Regions from separate parts of the Homo sapiens genome. Here region 1 is linked to region 2. The links are contacts of gene promoters, found by promoter capture Hi-C in blood cells and fetal thymus (Javierre and others, 2016). All regions are on one chromosome and are shown on one strand. Each heading gives the region's core, a stretch centred on a gene start or on the middle of the fragment in contact. The rest is flanking DNA. Distances are from core to core; before and after follow the strand shown.

What was found. Contacts are between HindIII fragments. The CHiCAGO score rates a contact against its expected background, and 5 or more counts as called.
Region 1: a contact is called between a fragment that was not itself captured here and the fragment with the promoter of GPR6 in region 2, in 2 of 17 cell types (non-activated CD4 T cells and total B cells). The highest score is 5.8, in non-activated CD4 T cells.

What each region holds. Positions count from the first base shown.
Region 1 is chr6:110,415,416-110,421,740 of GRCh38, forward strand. It overlaps LOC105377936 (a long non-coding RNA gene), which reads left to right and starts at 229. Exons shown (of 2, transcript XR_942856.2): 1 at 229-372; 2 at 4,133-4,715. DDO (D-aspartate oxidase) reads right to left here and starts at 160. Exons shown (of 5, transcript NM_001372108.2): 1 at 52-160. The HindIII fragment of the contact is 1,477 bases long and covers 3,414-4,890 here.
Region 2 is chr6:109,974,155-109,980,704 of GRCh38, forward strand. It overlaps GPR6 (G protein-coupled receptor 6), which reads left to right and starts at 4,157. Exons shown (of 2, transcript NM_005284.5): 1 at 4,157-4,313; 2 at 4,941-6,550. The coding sequence starts at 4,959. The coding sequence ends at 6,047. RefSeq lists a silencer at 4,486-4,649 and an enhancer at 4,588-5,393. The HindIII fragment of the contact is 13,256 bases long and covers 1-6,550 here.

The DNA of each region.
Region 1 (6,325 bases), core at 2,902-5,401, 440 kb after region 2:
CCCAGAGCATGGACGGAACGACCCCTCAGCTGAAAGCAAGAATTCAAGTACCTGTCTCTGAAAAAGCAGTCTTGGAAGCCACCAAAATCTCTGGCACCAAACCTTGTTTCCCAGTGCCTGGCTGGTCTCATGCCCTGAGAGACAGAGAGAAAGCGAAACTGATTCCCATTGGTGACTTGATTCAGGACATTCCCCCTGGTCTTCCTTTCCATTGGCCTGCATGGCTGTCTCTGTCACCCATTGCCCCGGAGAAAGGAGCAAGTGACCTCAACCTGTCATCTCCATGGCGCTGTCTCTGCCAAGCCCTTCCCTTTCTGGCCCACGAGCCCTCTGTCTGGCCGCCAGCCTGGGCTTTCTCCAGCTGATTTGTAGGTATGGTGAATAATGGGTGAGCCTGTCCAACTTCCAACCTCGTTTGGCTGCCCACAGTTAGCCGGGTGCCTGGCTCTGCTGGGTCAGCTGGTGGGGGAAGCAGGAAGGAGGGGGTGAGGGCTGAGTAATGTTGTTGATTGATTGGAGCTGGAAACACTATTCAGGAGATAATCTAGGATAGAACCACATGATTCTTTAGCCCAGCAGTCCCCAGCCTTTTAGGCACCAGGGGCTGGTTTCATGGAAGACAATTTTTCCACAGACTGGGGATGGGGAGATGGTTTCAGGATGATTCAAGTGTGTTACATTTACTGTGCACTTTATTTTTATTATTATTCGTTGTAATATATAATGAAATAATTATACAACTCAACATAATGTAGAATTAGTGGGAGCCCTGAGCTTGTTTTCCTGCAATTAGATGGTTTTCTCTGAAAGTAATGGGAGGCAGTGACAGATCATCAGGCATTAGATTCTCATAAAGAGCACACAAACTGGATCCCTTGTGTGCGCAGTTTACAGTAGGTTTGTGCTCCTATAAGAATCTAGTGCCTCAGCTGATCTGACAAGAGGCAGAGCTCAGGCAGTAATGCAAATGATAGGGAGTGGGTATAAATGAAGACAAAGCTTTGCTTGCTCACCCACGGCTCACCTCCTGCTGTGAGGCCAGTTCCTAACAGGCCACGGACTGGTAGTGGTCTGTGGCCTGGGGATTTGGGATCCCTGATTTAGCCCACATATTCAAAGAAGGGATTCAATATTTGATGAGTGTCTACTGAGCTCTAGGCATGAGGCACAGTTAACAAGTTTGTTTCCAGGGAGGCAGTGTGATGTGTCAAATTAGTGACAATAATATTTTCAATAATGTATATGTAGCATTAACCATGTGCTAGACACATGTATGACATCATATATCACAACCACCCTATGAAGTAGGTACTATTATCACTATCCCCATTTTGTATATGAGTACATTGAGGCTCCAAGACAGTAAGGAAGGGTCCAGGGTCTCTTAAATGGTAAAATCCAGTCTGGATATCTGACGTCAAGGCTCAAGCTCTTTTTTTTTTTTTTTTTTTTTTTTGAGATGGAGTCTCGCTCTGTCACCCAGGCGGGAGTGCAGTGGCTCTATCTCAGCTAACTGCAAGCTCTGCTTCCTGGTTTCATGCCATTCTCCTGCCTCAGCTTCTCTAGTAGCTGGGACTACAGGCGCCCGCCACCACACCTGGCTAATTTTTTGTATTTTTAGCAGAGACGGGGTTTCAACATGTTAGCCAGGATGGTCTCGATCTCCTGACCTTGTGATCTGCCCGCCTCGGCTTCCCAAAGTGCTGGGATTACAGGCTTGAGCCACTGTGCCCAGCCAAAGCTCAAGCCCTTAACCAAAACACAAACTTTGGTTTCAAGAGACCTGCATTTTTACCTTGAGCAAATCACCTGACTTCTGAGTTGGATTGCCCATCTGAAAACTGAGAATGAACTAAGAATCCCTTGCAAGTTGTTGTAGGTCTCTGATAAGTTGAGATATGTACAATTCTTTGTAAGGTGGTCTGAGGGCCGGTGAGGGGGTGGTGGGGAAAAGCAACTTTTTCTCTGGCTATGCTCAATACTGTCACAGTCACTGAATACAGAACACTTTCTGTGACCAGGTGTGTGGGGGTTGTCTCCCTACACACCAAGCATCCCATTCTGCAGATTCCCTAGCAGACACTTCAGCTGCATGTCCTCTAATTCAATTCAATTCTGACACCAGCTACCTGGAGATAGTGTCAGATCCCACAGGTTAAGGGCTCAGTCCCACAAGACTTACCCTACTTTGGATGCCAATCACAAGCCCCAGGTTGTGGGTTTCTGACTGGTGGGCTATAAATCGGGGTCCCTACAAGCCCCTTTTCAGGTTCAATTAATAATGGTTCAATTTGCTAGAGTGGCTCCAGAACTCAAAAGAACACTTTGCTTACCTTTACCCATTTATTAATATGGATATTACAAAGGATGCAGATGAAGAGCCATGTGGAAGAGAGGGCCAGGGCTAGGCATATGGGAACGGGCAAGGAGCTCCCGTGCCCTCTCTGGGGGCACAACGTCCAGGAACCTCCACATATTCAGCCATCTGGAAGCTCCCTAAACACAGTCTTGTGTTTTTCCTTTTTTTTTTTTAATGAAAGCTTTATTATGTAGACATGATGGTTAAAACATTGGCCACTAGTGACCAACTTAACCTTCAACCCCTTCTCCCTAGAGGTTGGGGATAGGGCTGAAAGTCCCCACTCTCTAATCATGTCTTGTCATTTCCAGATGACCAGCTCCCATCCTGAAGCTTACTACAGGGCTCCAGCCACCAGATATCTCATTAGCATACAAAAGACACTCTTATCACTCTGAGGATTCCAAGGGTTTTAGGAGCTATATGTCAGGAAATGGGAATGAAGACCAAATACATAGTTCCCAGTATCACAGGTGGTATACATATTTTATTGAGCACCTACTATAAAAATCAATCAACAAACATTTATGGAGCAGCCACTTTGTCCAAGACATACTGCAAGGGCTATAAAAGATTTAAGAACTTCTGAGATGTTTGCTCCCTCAAGAAAGGAAACAAGGCAGAATAAGACTGTCCTCTAACCAACAGCACATACTGCAGGTGCTGGGAAGGATCAGGAGAGAGAGGAGTACAGTGGACCCAAGTGGCTAGTCCAGGAGCGTACATGGGAAGTGAGGAAGGCCCTAATCAATCAGTGGGATTTCGATGGACAAACAAGAGGAGGGAGAAAAATCTCTGGAGAGACAAAGCCACAGAGGCAGGAAGTTCAAAGTGACCTGAGGAAAGAGAAGGGGGTTCATGGGGAGGTTTGTGCAAGACCAGGGTGTGAAAGTGCTGGAAATCTGGCTAGGATGCAAGACTGTGTTCAAAAAGTAATGGGAGCCACGGAAGAGATCTGAGAAGGCTCTTTCTTCCTCCCGCCCAGGTTAGGACTCCATGTTTTCCTGAAAAGCAAGAAGAGGAGGACATACTCAGAAATGAAACCCAGAAAGAAAGCTTCTCTGTAGTAGTGCAGAGTCTATACAGATAGGACTAATAAATCCTTTTTTTTTTTTTAAACGCAGAGCTCTAGCACTATGACTTAAGTGAAGGGTCCTTCAGAAAATGGATGGGAAAACTGATTTAGGTATCATTGAGGGTAACTTCTAAAAGGGGCCTCAGGAACCACCTGGGGAGAATCTAGTGTTGTTTTCCAGGTTAGTGGTTGGGGTCTGAAGTGTTGACGTGATCTCCCTGAGACTGCAGGGGAGCTGGGCTTCATCATCTTCCCAACGCTTCTTCGGAGACTTTTAAACTTGGGCTGCAGAGGTCCCCAGGGCCTCACCTCTGCAGCACATTTAGGGTCTCTCTAGCCACCCTCCCCCTCTTGCTGTGCTCTCCATGGGTGTTTCTGGCTTGCAGGGTGTTAGCCTTGCTGGTGTGTCTGTGGCCAGTAAATGCAGGACCTAAGCCTGCGTTCATCAGAAGACTATTGAAGATATCAGGCTCAGGGGCCAGGGATTCCCATGTGTACAGCAGTTTGGGGCAGGGAAGTAGGACAGTGAAATCGTCCTCATAGGGTTAATGAGATTATAAGCCAGGCTTTATGGAGAATTCTAGTTAAACATTGACCAGGGTGGGTTGGTGTACTTTTGACCTGCTCCCCTGAAACTGCTAACTAATCAAGAATCAGGTAGCATGCTGACCACCTGCTCCCCCAACTTGTTCCTACAGATAAAATCTCTGACAGTGGATCTTTTACCCAAGAATTGCTTAAGATGTTCTTCAGATCCTCAATTTCAGCAGAATGGCTGACACCAACTGGCATGGGTGAGCCCAGAGAGAGGCTGGGAATTAAAAAAAAGTTTACTTAGAGAACAAGCAGTTGCCAGTGAAACGTTGGTGCACTGTAGACTTCAGACATAAAAACAGCAGCCATCACTGACTTCTGGCAAATTCAAGTAAAACAACAAACATCGAAACTTCCAGACATTCTGTTGGGGGAAGTTGCCAAAGACGTTGGCTGCCATAGTCAGCTTTACCATCTTCGATAAGAAAATACTCCTCTTCACCATATACAAGAATTTATTAAGTACCTGCTTTGCCTACACCATTTTGCACTTAGTATGTTTTCGTTACATATTTGATAGGAATGAGAGAAAGGGCACAGGTGGGCCCCTCAGAACAGAGCATTTAATTGAGTACATTCGGAGCATATTTTGAGTATGAACCTCCCTAACAACACACCTTTTAACAGTGATTCAGGGGAAAGATTCAGCTTTTGTGGGGTCTGAAGTTTGTACAGTTTCAAGAGCCCTTTTAAGAGGAAAAAAATACAAAATCACAAAAGAAAAGAATGCCTGTGACCACTTTGATAACATCTGGCAGAGGAGGAATGTGATAGAAGGGAAAACCAAGTGGAAAAATATGATGGTCTCAGCTGATTGTAGTGACTAGATCTTACTTTTGCAAAATGTACAAAATTCTGTGAAAGCTTATGTCCAAGTGGACCCATTACTACGCTCCATCACAGGAGCCTGTCCAACTGAAGGAGCCTGAAGTTTATGCGTCATTAGCTTCAGTGAGTCTTGCCTACAGCTATCATGGACTGGAACTAACCACTGGAGCAAAAGGGAAACTGCAGAAGTATCTCCAGGTAGCTAAACTGCAGAGTCCATGAGGGAGGACAACAGTGTGTGGTAGGGCACAGTCAGGACAGCGACACATGTGGAGCACTGATAGACGGGGCCCCCATGCCCACTGGCCAAGACCAAGACTGGGCAGGACACCTAATGAGGGTGGAATCACATACAGTGAATGGAGAAATAGCCTTGTAAAATATCGGGACTGTGCAGAGTGGCGTTAAATGGTGTTGATATATTATTTCATTTAATTTTCCCATTCCCAGAGGGACATTGTATGATAATCCTGAATTTCCAAATGAGAAGATTGGGGTAAAGAGAGATTGGTTTGCTTAAGCAGGAATGCTTATAGTCAGGGCTTTTTTATTTCCAGGCTTCCATTGCCTCTCACACTTCGTAGCCTGTCAAAGTCAAGTTAGTGCATTAACCTCAGTGACATAGAACTGAGAAACAAGGTCACCTATCTGAATCTTACCTACTTGTGTGTGGTTTGTCCTCCATTCATTGTAATGCTATGGTAAAGTACTCCTTGAAATATTTGCAATCAGAGACAGATCGGATGTGTTATGACTAGGTTCCAACTATTATAGATCATCACCATTTTCCAAGTATAAAATCAGAAGGTTACACATATTAAGAAATGCTGAAGGAACAAAGTATGTTTGGCTTCCTGCACGATAAACATTTGTGAATTTTTACAACAAACAAAAAGCCTAATTTTTCTTCCAGTAAAGAAAAAGAAATTTTTTTTTTTTTTTTTTTTTTTTTTTTTTAGACAGAGTTGCCCAGGCTGGAGTGTAATGGTATGATCTCGGTTCACTACAACCTCTGCCTCCAAGGTTTGAGGAATTCTCCTGCCTCAGCCTCCTGAGTAGCTGGGCTTACAGGTGTACACCACCATGCCTGGCTAGTTTTTTTGTATTTTCAGTAGAGATGGGGTTTCACCATGTTGGCCAGGCTGGTCTCGAATTCCTGGCCTCAAGTGATCCACCTGCCTCAGCCTCCCAAAGTGCTGGAATTATGGGCATAAGCCACTGCACCCTGCCCCAATAAAGAAAATTTTTTCCTTTTGAATTAAAACTACTTTAATCAAGGTTGATGGATACAAAATCAACATATAAAATCAATGTATTTTATGCCAGCAATATACAGTCACAAAATATAATTATTAGAAACTTCTCATTTCTAATTATAATGGAAATTTACATATAAGAATATAACAAAAAACATGTACAACCTTTATGGAAAAAATTATACTTCATTAAAAGATATTAATGATGACCTA
Region 2 (6,550 bases), core at 2,907-5,406:
GGCCCTTTGTGATTTCTGTCTCTTGTAGCAACAATCTTTCTTAATAAACAGCTTCATACATCTCACCAAGCACTTGCTGTCTTCCTGAGATGTCAGCACAAGCACCTGGATACCACCAGATAGACTTACACTTCCCAGTTGAACACTATACTGCTTATCCCCAAGAATCAAGAACAGGGAGCGTGTGTGTGTGTGTGTGTGTGTGTGTGTGTTTGTGTGTGTGTGTATGCGCATGCAGATGCCCAGAGAGAGAGAAAGAAAGAGACAGAGAGACCAGAATTTCTTGCCAGTGTGGGTCTTTTCAACGTAGTTTTGTAAGGTTCTGGACAGCTTGGCTGGCTGCAGTCCTGATATTATGAAACAGAATTGATTTGCAAGGATTTGAGCCAGGAGAGGGCACACCTGGGAGGCAGCTGTGAGATCAGCCAGAGCAAGGGTGCAAATGCTGAGGTATCTTGAAACCTACAGCAGAATAAAGGGTTGGGACAACCTGAACCAGAGCCAGAGTTTAGTGCTCCCTAATGGGGCTATTGAATTCATCAGGGCCAAGAGAGAACCATGTGCCAGCCTTTATCTTGAGAGAGGAAGGAGGTTCTGTGTGTATATGGAAAATTAAAGGTCTGCAGAGGAGATGTAGTGAATGTGTTAAACCTGAAATTACACAATGATTTAGAGCTGGATTCTCACTGAAATTTCTTTATTGCAACTATTCCAAAAAGATATCCACTATTTCAGGAGTTTCACTACACACTAAACTGACAAAGGGATTGTTTAGATGAGTGTTCTCAACCCTGAGTTTTCTTTCGGGTCTTTAGAAAATACCCACTCCAGACAAAATGAATCAGAATTTCTGGGTGAGGGATCCAAAGATGGGTAGTTTTAAAAACCCTTCCATGTAATTCTAATATGCAGCCAGGATTGAGAACTGCTGGCTTAGGCTGAGATGGGAATGAGATATCAAAGGAAGCTAGAGAAAGAAAGATTGTGGTTGAAAGGCTCTGATTCCTGGGCTTAGCCTCAGACAAGAAAAGTGTCCTCATGTTTATGCTTAAATAGTGCTAGAACAGAAAGAAGCAAGGCACCTCAGCCTGTGATAAGTTGGTCAAAGGGTTGGCAATAATGAATTTAATCTGTGACTACCAATCAGAAGCCAAACTCTGAAGACCCCAAAACATAAACAAAACCAGACAAGCTGGTGGATGAATAATACATTTGGTTGTATGTTTCAGTCAATGATCAAGGATTCACAGAATAGAAACCATTCAAGGTAGCGCAAGATTAGGAAGGTTTGTGGTAGAGACCCAAAATGTAATTTCAAGGCATCAAGGGATTTGGGCTCCCAGAGCCAGGAACCAGACACTCAGGGACTGAGGTCACTCCTTTCACCTCTTGGTCATTTGATCTTCTTCATCTCTGTTCCTCTTCACACATCTGCTTCATTCTTCCAGAGCAGTTGGCTTTCTCTGATTAAACACTTCACACAAGGTCCAACACACAAGTGGTTCAGCTCTAATTTATCACTGTCTTTCATGTCCAGAGCCCAACACTGACTCACCGTTGTTAACGTGTTTCTTAGTTCAAATTTTCAACAGAAAAGGATCTGGTCACTAGCCCAGCAAAGGATGGCTGATCGTATCTAGCTTCAGTTGAGGTGTCAATCTCCTCCCATATACTAGGGTATGTGTGGAAAATTTCATGTAGTTTACAGGCTGAACACTTTAGGAGACCATTGGAAGGGCAGGTGCTTATATAGTAGCTATAGGCAAGGCAAGTAAAGAAGTCCATCTAATTTCCATCCATAACTGATGAAACAGACATATTTTGCTTTCCCATCTTCTACCTTCCAAAATATGGGTGGATATAGGGGAGATAAGGAGGAGTTTGAAAGAACATGCTCTGTCTGCCCAGGACCTAGTCTAGCATCCAAAAGAGGTAACCACAGATTGGCATCACTCAAAGTCAGTCTACATATCCTCAACCATCATTTATGTACATGATTCTACATGTGTTGTCTTCCTCTGGAAATCACTGAGAAATCCATTCTTGGTAATGTTGAAGCCTAAGGATATTCAGAGATCCTGTGGTAGGTTCAATTTTAACCTCATACTTTCTGCTACATTGTGGCATGTGAAAATGGAACATACTTAGATATTAAGGAGGATTCTCCTCCCCTTGGGCTTTTATCTGATCATTTGGAAAATCCTCAGTTAACATGCTGTTACAGTGGTTTGACGGCTCACTTGACAGCTCTGAAATAACATTCTTGACTCTTAGATGACAATCTTGTACCGAAACACAAAACGGCTCTTTTCAGAAATTTAGAACTTCAGCCAAGTTTTGGGTTCAAGAAAATAGTGGTGTGTGGATTTTTTTAAGCTCTCCAAATGGATAAATTGTGTGTAAACTCACTTTCTGTCCAACATCAGCTATTGCACCAAATAATTGAACTGTCATATGTCCCTTGTTCTTGTAATTAAGTTGGCTGCATTGAGGCAGGAATAGTCTGGACTTGGGGGTCATGTTTAAAGGCAGCAACCTAGGGTAAACTTATCCTCCAACCCATGGACAGTCTGAATATCTTTTTTCCCCTCTTTGGAGCTAGAGGCAAAGTGAAGGGAGGAAAGGGTCCACAGGGAGAAGTAGGGGGAGCACTAGCAACAAATGTTGCCAATTTTCACTTTTCCCAGACCATGTGGTCCCTGAAAAGTATGGCTGTGGCCTCTGTGCAATGCCATCATGCCAATGTGCAATCATCTATTTTAGAACCTCAGATGGCATCAACTATTTTAGCTCTTGCCCAGGTACAGCTACTGCACATTCTGGGAGAAGAAAGAGAATAAGAAGACTAATATTCGTATCTTACTGACAAAACAAAACACCTTTAAAACAAAAGGATGATTTATCTGGGCTGAAAATAAAACTCCTGCCTACTGAAGTCTGGTGCAGCTGAGTTATCACGATTTTCGTCCTGTAATTTGTTTTATAGGGTACTAATTAACAGGGCAAAGTCTGAAGCCAAGAAAGTAAATCACATTTTGCTGTTTTCCTTTTCTCTAGCAAGATGCAGACCTGGTCTTTAATTAAAGCGCAAGTTCCAAGGGCGATATCAGCTACCGAAATCGGGAAAACATGGGCCGAAAAGGTCACAGTGAAACCTGCTGTGTAGAGTTCAGAAAAGATAATGGGAAAGAGAGGAATTGCACAGGCAACCTCCAAAAGAAGAGATTGTTTTCCTCAGATGTCCCTGTCTTATCCATCTTTTAACTGCTCCCCATAACTCAGAATTTCTTCCCTGACTCTACTCAACTGAGCATGTACCACAAACATCCTTTTTAAAAATTGGATTTCAGGCCTGGTGAGGTGGCTCACACCTGTAATAACAGCACTTTGGGAGGCCGAGGCGGGTGGATCACACGAGGTCAGGAGTTCGAGACCAGCCTGACCAACATGGCGAAACCCCATCTCTACAAAAATTAGCTGGGCGTGGTGGCGTACATCTGTAATTCCAGCTACTGGGGAGGCTGAGGCAGGAGAATCGCTAGAACCCAGGAGACAGAGGTTGCAGTGGGCCGAGATCGGGCGACTACACTCCAGCCTGGGCGACAGAGTGAGACTCTGTCTCAATAAATAAATAAATAAAATTTTTAAAAAGTGAATTTCTTTTCCCAGATAATTCCTGTTTCGGGAACGGCATTTTTTTTTAAAGGTAGCTACTTTCCCATCAAACACCCCTGTCCCAACCTCCCCCTTCTCCGGGGTTTCTTTTTTGACCTGATCCCTCAGTGATCTTTGACGCTGGGCTTTGCTGCCCGGCAGGTGTCACTCATCCTTCACCCCTCCCCTCCCAGCTCACCCTCTTCGCCGCCTGGTCTCAGGGTCTTCTTCACTCCTTTCTACCTCTCCTTGTCTCTCTCCCATCCCATTCCTGGAAGTTCTGGACTGGAGGTGGTTGCTCTGGCTTCTCCTCCCTCCTAGGACCCTCAGATAGTGTTGGGGGCAGGGGGAGTGCGGCGGGGAGGGCACAGGATGGGCTGGCGAGGAGAGTGAGTGCTGGGCTCGCACCGGGAGCCGGGAGCCTGACGTCACCACGCCCTGCCTGTCAATCTGCAGCGCGCGCCGCTCGCAGCCGCCTTTTCTGCCACCAACTGTATCTCTCACTCGCGGAGCCGGCACAGCGACAGGCGCCCCGCGCTTGCCTCCTCCCCGGCCCGGCCGCCTCCTGCAGGCAGCTGCTCTGTTTGCGCGGGGAGCTCAGCCCGGCGCCCCGCCTCGGCGCCCATGACCAGCGACTTCCAGAAGTCCTGACGCCCCAGGTGAGTGGCCGAGTTCCCAGGGAACTTTGAGGATGTGGGGAGAGGAGGGGAGAAAGATATCCAGGGGACAGGTCTTTCCAGAAGAGGAGAAATGGAGCCAACCTTGACTCCCACCCTCTGCTGCCCCCATACACACACCCTAGTCTCTCCTCCCAGACCCCCTTCGCAGGGGTCTCTGGGCTCCAGGACTCTCCAGGCTTCGCAATGCCAGAAACTTCGCTTTCAGCACCGCGGACAGCGTCTCTGCTGCCCAGCCCCATGGGGATGTCCTGGTCGCGCCGCCACAACCCAGGCGGGACTCTCCCAGGATGACACTCCTAGCTTGGTGCACTCGGGTGCGTGTGCAAATACAGGCAGCCTTGGAGAATTGATCCTTGTGCATGTGAGTGCATGTTGTCCTGGTGTATATCTGCAAAAACTCAGAAGTCCGCGTGGGCATTTCACTCACTCACTCAACAGGTATTTATTTTGGGTTCGCACTTAACCCATGATTCCCCGATTTGCTCTGGGGTCCCAGGGTGGGGTGGGCAACTCAAGTGGGGCAATGCGAGAGGAGGCTCTACGCGTGGGGAAGTTTCCTGGCAGCCTGAAGTGTACACCTGACGCCTGCACTCCCTCCCTATGCAGGGTGCAAATCCGGCCGCGATGAACGCGAGCGCCGCCTCGCTCAACGACTCCCAGGTGGTGGTAGTGGCGGCCGAAGGAGCGGCGGCGGCGGCCACAGCAGCAGGGGGGCCGGACACGGGCGAATGGGGACCCCCTGCTGCGGCGGCTCTAGGAGCCGGCGGCGGAGCTAATGGGTCTCTGGAGCTGTCCTCGCAGCTGTCGGCTGGGCCACCGGGACTCCTGCTGCCAGCGGTGAATCCGTGGGACGTGCTCCTGTGCGTGTCGGGGACAGTGATCGCTGGAGAAAACGCGCTGGTGGTGGCGCTCATCGCGTCCACTCCGGCGCTGCGCACGCCCATGTTCGTGCTGGTAGGCAGCCTGGCCACCGCTGACCTGTTGGCGGGCTGTGGCCTCATCTTGCACTTTGTGTTCCAGTACTTGGTGCCCTCGGAGACTGTGAGTCTGCTCACGGTGGGCTTCCTCGTGGCCTCCTTCGCCGCCTCTGTCAGCAGCCTGCTGGCCATTACGGTGGACCGCTACCTGTCCCTGTATAACGCGCTCACCTATTACTCGCGCCGGACCCTGTTGGGCGTGCACCTCCTGCTTGCCGCCACTTGGACCGTGTCCCTAGGCCTGGGGCTGCTGCCCGTGCTGGGCTGGAACTGCCTGGCAGAGCGCGCCGCCTGCAGCGTGGTGCGCCCGCTGGCGCGCAGCCACGTGGCTCTGCTCTCCGCCGCCTTCTTCATGGTCTTCGGCATCATGCTGCACCTGTACGTGCGCATCTGCCAGGTGGTCTGGCGCCACGCGCACCAGATCGCGCTGCAGCAGCACTGCCTGGCGCCACCCCATCTCGCTGCCACCAGAAAGGGTGTGGGTACACTGGCTGTGGTGCTGGGCACTTTCGGCGCCAGCTGGCTGCCCTTCGCCATCTATTGCGTGGTGGGCAGCCATGAGGACCCGGCGGTCTACACTTACGCCACCCTGCTGCCCGCCACCTACAACTCCATGATCAATCCCATCATCTATGCCTTCCGCAACCAGGAGATCCAGCGCGCCCTGTGGCTCCTGCTCTGTGGCTGTTTCCAGTCCAAAGTGCCCTTTCGTTCCAGGTCTCCCAGCGAGGTCTGAAGGGCTCGCCCCGTGTCCTCTCACCAACACCACACCCCAACAAGCCAGCCTTTGGTAAGCTCGGTGCCTGCTGACGAACTCTGAGATCCCAATGGTGTGAGTCTGACTTTGGAAAGAAAAAGGGACTAAAGAGAAATGTAACAAACTTACAAGGACAAAGAGGCTTGTTGGCACTTTACATATACAGTGTATACATGTGTACATATATATACAAATATTTGTATCTTCTGGAGGTGTTCAGGATGTGGAGCTTCCTATTCTGTGAAAAACCAAGAAAAAGATATGGTTGTATACTCAAATTGTACATCACGTTTGTCAAACGAAGACATTCCAATACTGCTTAATTATAGCACTTTATTTTTAGCTGCTGAACTGCCAAAACAGTGTTGCCATTTTCAAGGGCAGGGAAAAGGGAGTAAAAGGTGTATTTTTGTCGTATGTGATAGAATATTTTGCTGCACATGCATCAACAAATTACAACATGTTTTGTACACGAATAAACC